2 separate regions of the Homo sapiens genome follow, and region 2 is linked to region 1. The links are contacts of gene promoters, found by promoter capture Hi-C in blood cells and fetal thymus (Javierre and others, 2016). All regions are on one chromosome and are shown on one strand. The core of a region is centred on a gene start or on the middle of the fragment in contact, and the rest is flanking DNA. Distances in the headings are between cores, read along the strand shown.

Region 1 (3,014 bases), core at 133-2,632:
ACAGTCTAAGTCAGTGAGGTTTGCCATGGCATCAAATCTCCTTTTAAACCCACACCGCTTGAATAATAACTATGATTCTGGATAGTTGACTCATGAATATTTCCTGCGAAGGAACAATGAGGGTATTCTGAGGAAATTAAATCCATACAAGTAATTCCCAAACTTTATTCATGTTTGAATACTTTCTAACTTCAAATGTTTTTACCAGACTGGTAACACATAGCAAAATCAACTGATAAGATTGTCCTTTTTTCTTTCTTCCTCTTCCTCTACCTAACACTTCTCTAGTGTGGTACTAACTGGAGAAGGCACAAAGAGTAAGTAGATAGAAAGGGAAATGAAAAGTCAAAGAGCCCTACACTTTTTTTTCCCCCCTCTCTCCTGGTAGTCCTACTTCAAAGGCAGTGTAGCTTTCTCAGAAAGGCCAACCCACACTCAGAGGGTGAAGTTGGAAAACCCCAGCAACCCTATGATACACAATAAACCCATGTAAGGAGGTGGTCCCTTACAAACAGTTGGCTATGAATATCTTCTTTCAAATAGTCTGACACTCGTGGCATAATTATTTTTGTAAGAGTCCTCAGGAAAGTCTGTTTTGAAATACTGCATAGCTTAAGACTACAATAGTACCTTGCATAGTTCAATGTAAACATATCCAGGTGGCTTGTGAAGAAGAGAGGAAGCCAGAGGTGATGCTTCTCTATAGGAAAATGACACTGCAGCCAGCCCCCCGAATCCTGAGAAGACCCTAAATACACCACTCCCCCTCCCCGACAACTACCCAAGTGATATCCTGTGAGTGACTGGATTCTAATCTATCGAATAGTTTCTGTACATGAAAAAAAAATCAATTTTGGAATAAGAGTTGCCAGCAGAAAGATTTCCATTTATTAGGCACCTACCAGGTGCCTGATTCTATTGGGTACATTAAAGATATTCTTTCATTTAGTTCTCACCTGGAAACTCTCAAGGCTTGTTCACATTTTACTGATGAGAGAAATAAGGCACAAGAAGATTAAACAAACAATCCAGGCCAACTCAAGTGGAGGGATGTGTGGTTGAGTTCAGGTCTGCCTGTAAATCGCTTGAGGCCAGAAACTTTTCTCTATTTTGTTCACTGATGTGTCCCAAGTGCCCAGAAGAATGCCTGGCAAATTGTAGCTGCTTAGTAAATATTGAATGATTACCTTAATGAGAGAATCCAGCACGTGTACTCCTAAGTATTATTCTCTACAGTTTCTCCTCAGTCTCCTCACTCCAGTCTGTTACCTGCCCCTTTCTCCCATCCCATTTCAAAGGGAAATGGAGCCCAGAGCTGCAGTGGATGCTGTAGAAAGTTATATCTCTGTGTACATCCTGCTGAAGGAATGGAGCGATTGTCAGGGAGCTGTGTCATTGAGTCTGAGGCCTTACTTCCTTGCTCTCCCCCTTCTATTTCCTGCTTCCTCCCACAAAGATTTTCTGAGTCCTTGCTGTGTGCTGAGCACTGGAGACTCACTATGAACAAAGTTGGTATGGTCCCTGTCCTTATGCAAATTATTGAATAAATTATAGGTACGGTGAGTGTTTTGACAGAGAGGTAAGAATGTTATAGAAACATATAACAAGAGGACTCAGACCTATTCTTTGAGGTCAGGAAAGACATCTTTGCAAATTTTAACTTTAAGACAAGATATTAAGGATAATTAAGAGTTCCTAATGTATACCTTGGGTTTCCTGGATGTCTCTGCCTAAGACACTTTTAGGGAGGAGTTAAGACTGTTTTCCTATAATACTAAGAAGTCATTTGCCTTTTCATTCTTATTGCATTACAAGTGTACAATGGAGTTTTACAGAAGCTGCATAACATAGATTTCACAACAGATTGAATGCAGAAGCAGACATGAGAATCCATTTATCCTTTAGTAAGCCAGATATTGGTAAGATTTGCAAAAAATGCATAACAGCACTACTAGTCTCACTCATGTATTTTTGGTTTTGGAAAACGTGGCTATGTTTTCATAAAATGTTATTTATGTTAAGGTATAATCAGTTTACTATGTTGTTTTAAAATGAATTAAATATTTAAAAAAGAATTGGTTCTAATTTGCAACATGATATAATGATATAATCTACCTTTTTTAAAATGAAAAGGTCTTTGGGGTTCTTCAGAAGATTTGAGAGCACAAAGGGGCCGAGCCCCAAAAGTTTGCGAATGGCTGAGCTAAGAGAAGAGGAGGAGGGAGTGTTCCACAGTGAATAAACAGCCTGTGTAAAAGCCCTTCCCTGGTATACGACTTGTAGTTTTGAGGATATTAAAGAAGTCCAATGTGGTTGGAACATAGAAAGTGATGGAGAGAGAATATAATATGCAGAACAATGGGTAAGCAGTGCCATATTTGAGAGCAATGACTTAATCTTAGGTCAGTGGGAAGTCACTGAAGGGTTTTAAGCAGGTTGGAATTGATGAGATACATGTTGAGAGAGGAAGGAAAAGGAAAGAAGAAAGGAAAAGAATGGGGGGACACAGAGAAGGGAGGTCAGGAGGCTTTTGGGGAAAACTTAGTAAGCTATGAGGGAGGGACAGTAGGGCTGGATAGAAGAGGATAGATGTAAATAATATTATGGAGAATCTAGAGGACTTGGGTTTGATTGTCAGTAGAGAGTGACTTGTTTTGTAAAAGAAGGAATGAATTTTCTCATGGTTTTTTAGTCATACCACTTGATTTTAAATTCTAGCGCTAATTCTGTGACTGTGAGCAAATTATTTAAACTCCATAAGCTACAATTTTCTCATCTGTAAAAAAAACAGGAACAAGAGCCACAATTTCATATGGTTGTTGAAGTTATTTTAAAATGCACACATATCTAATATAACTGGATTATCGTAATTATTTATTTGTTTCCCTTACCTTCTCTTTAACTCTCTTTCTTACCATTTTAAGATGGAGGGGGGAAGTTGGCAGTGTTCTTCAGGAAACATAAATTCTTGGGAAGGGAGTTTGGACACCATATGCAAAATCTCCTCCTGTGAT
Region 2 (3,088 bases), core at 423-2,922, 290 kb before region 1:
GAGGCTCCATCAAGATGTAGAAGACTGTGCTTGCCTAGTGCTTCCAGCCAAAGATTACCTTTATTTGAGCCCAGAAACAGCTGATCTCTTCCTTCCCAATAGAGTACTTGAGATTAAGAAGTATCCTGATTGAGAGGGAAGACATTATCGTTGATCTCAAAATGTAGGTTCTCCTGTCTGACTATTGCTCCTTATCTTCCAACTCTCCTTTCTGCCTTCATACTCATCCCATTTGTTCTTTCCCTTCATGAATGCATGAATTCTCTGGGACTGGAAAATTCCCATGGAGCTGCTGCCCATGGAGGTACAAGGTGCCATACCAAGGTACAAGGATGCAAAGGTCAGGGGCAAGGTTGGATCAGGGACCGTGATTATATATCCAAGGTGGCTGGAGGGAGTTTGCAAATCATCATTGTGCCGTGAATGGGGAGAGAGAGGGTAGTAAGAGTCAAAACTGGAGTTGTATCTAATGTCATGTTCAAGGGCATGGCAAAACCTTAACAGGGAAGGTGGAGTATCAGAAGATGAGACTAGGAACAGGGCAAGAAGCTGAATGTGAGTCCCAGAAGCTTCAAGGTGAGAACTAATGCTGTGAGGGGAACAGGGGGGCTGCGATGTATTTTCAGATGGTGTGAATTGCATAGAACATGGTCAGGCCTGCTGGAAAAAGGGGCCATGCAGAAAGAATTATGAGGGCTTTAAATCACTTAGTCTCGACCCTCTGCCTACTCTGTGAGCTTTTTCCTGGCTGCACAGGACCCACTTTGTACTCTAGATTGCAGTCAACTGCTTCAATATTATCCAGTATTTGGGCTTACTTAAATAGCCAAGTTTTCTAAAGTGCTTTATGATTATATCGTAAGCTCTTTGACAACAGAGCTGTGTCGTCTTTAGAATTTCTCATAGAACCTAGCATCATCTTTGCTGGAATAATAGATGTAGAGCAATTGAAGTATGGCTTCCTTGCAGCACCTACGCTTACCATAGTTTCTGTTGAGGCAAGGTAAAATTCCCTAATGCACCCATGCTTCTAAAGGACTCTGCCCATTACCTGTAGATTTGGAGGGGCCAGGCCCCTTGCTTAGGCTTATGCCTTGTTTTCCTACGTGTAATACGAACCTTATGCATTTAGGGTTTACCTGGTATGTACCATCTGCCATACTATTGTGTGTGCCATCTGCCAGATCATGGGCTTCCAGAAGCTTCTCTGAGGCTTGTTCACTGTAATGACTCGCTTGTGCCTTGAACATGTGCTTCCTTTGGGCCTCCCAACCTAGCCTTTAAGCTGTGAGTATGTTCATGTTCATTTCTCTAGACTCTGATCTTAAATTTGTCCTCAGGACTTTGAGCAAGCACATTTTCTCTAGAAATTACCTTGGCCAATGTCTCCAGTCTAACCGATCTTGTTCTACATCAGTGTCTCTCAAATGGCAATCCAGAGTCCATCTACATTAGAATCAGCTGGAAAAACTGGAAACATGCAGATTCCTGCCTGCTGGATCAGAATCTAGGGCTGAGCTAGAATCTGCCTTTTAACAAGTTTTCCAATGGATTGCTGATACACCCTAAAGGTGTATCATCTGTTGAATGACCATCTGTTCAGTCCTACCCAGTTGGTGTGGCTCTAAGACATTGCCCTCTGTGTATCCTGTGTTTCTGCTACTCAGGACCTGGCTGCTGAATGCCTTCACCGTGGTGCATCAGACCCCACTGCTCACACCCAAAAGTAGGGCTCCAACCCTGTCGGGCGCCTCTCACCTCTGGTCTCGTGATCTGTCCTCAGCCACCCTTCAGGGACTCCCTGTTCTTAAATGTGCGTCAGCTGCTCCCAGAGAGTCTGAGAGCCACACTAGACCTGCAATGCCTCGTCCATGGCTTTCTTTCCACTGAAAAGAGGATGGACTCTTATTAGGTACAACAGGGTAACTGAAAACAGGTTGAAGTTTCTGCAGCTTCAGTCACAAGTGGGAAAAATTTCTAGTGTCCATTTCCAAATCAAGTAGTAGGGGGAACTGGTAACTCAGCAGCCCAGTTGTTGAATGGGAGAGCAAATAAAGCAGCCTCCTCATGTTTCTGCTTGCTTTTGTGATTTTAAAAGGACAATAAAATGTAGAGATTATAAAATAGTAAAGGCAAGCTTTGTAAAGGCCTTCCCAATGTGAAAGAACTTTTACTATCTTTCATTCCGACCAGGTCTTAGCACAGGAAGCAGGATGCGAGCAAGGCCGGGACCTCTTCTGGGATTTCTGCTCGGGCTGGGCTCAGCCACAGGTCAGAGGTGGGAAGCGTCCCCTCCACTGCCTGGAGAGGGGAGAACAGACCCCTCTGTCAGTTCCTGCTGATAATAACGCAGCCTGCGTGGGCAGACATTGTGCATCCCCTGGCTGGATAGAACACGTGTCTCAATGCCTTTCTTGTTCTTCACCTTTGTGTAGCATGTGGCTTGGCAGGCGAGAGGGGATTAGGAGGCCTGTTGACAGAAATCCTGGTAGAATTCCATGTTTGAGAAACCCATCCAAAGGCGATAGCTTTGGGGCTTCATTAGGGTGGTTATCAGATCCAAAAGTGTTTTCCAGAGTGTGGACCCCTCCCTCCATGTTCCTGTTCTTATCTCTCTAATCTCATGAAAGTGGGGAAGGGCTAGAAACTCTTTCTCAAAAGAGACTTACGAGAAATAGCTCCCAGACTAAACTCTTTGCTCTGTGTTCACTCATGTACTTGTTTTTCAAAGCTTGCCAATTAAAAGAAAGAAAATTGTATGTGTTCAGACAAGTAGGGACCCACAGGCTGATGCGGTCAGAGGGCCACTGATGCTGAGGTTGCTCAGAGACTGGGAAGGTGGCTCAGGATGGGGTGAGCCCCTATTTCTCAGAGGTGCTGGCCTGGCCTATTTACTCCAGAACACTTAGGCCCTTAGAGGCCACGATTTCGGGGCTGCTGTGACAAATAGCCTTGGAAAGGTCATGCAGATGCATCAGTGGCATGCAGAACCTGCCATGAGTCTTGAATATAGTTGGTCTTCAAAATGTGATTGCCGAATATATAACATTGCCTTTTAGCGGGCTTTTTGTTTTATTAACCAATGCAG

What was found. The method cuts DNA at HindIII sites, captures the fragments that hold promoters and counts their contacts. A CHiCAGO score of 5 or more calls a contact.
Region 2: a fragment that was not itself captured here is called in contact with the fragment with the promoter of LINC02915 in region 1 in 1 of 17 cell types (monocytes); the score reaches 5.5 in monocytes.

Annotation. Positions count from the first base shown.
Region 1 is chr15:39,249,037-39,252,050 of GRCh38, reverse strand. LINC02915 (long intergenic non-protein coding RNA 2915) reads right to left here and starts at 1,382. Exons shown (of 2, transcript NR_144508.1): 1 at 1,188-1,382. The region is part of intron 1 of LOC105370777 (a long non-coding RNA gene); the gene reads left to right. The HindIII fragment of the contact is 11,359 bases long and covers 1-3,014 here.
Region 2 is chr15:39,534,962-39,538,049 of GRCh38, reverse strand. No RefSeq gene overlaps it. Among named protein-coding and RNA genes, the nearest start is that of THBS1, 45 kb to the left of the region's middle. The HindIII fragment of the contact is 935 bases long and covers 1,205-2,139 here.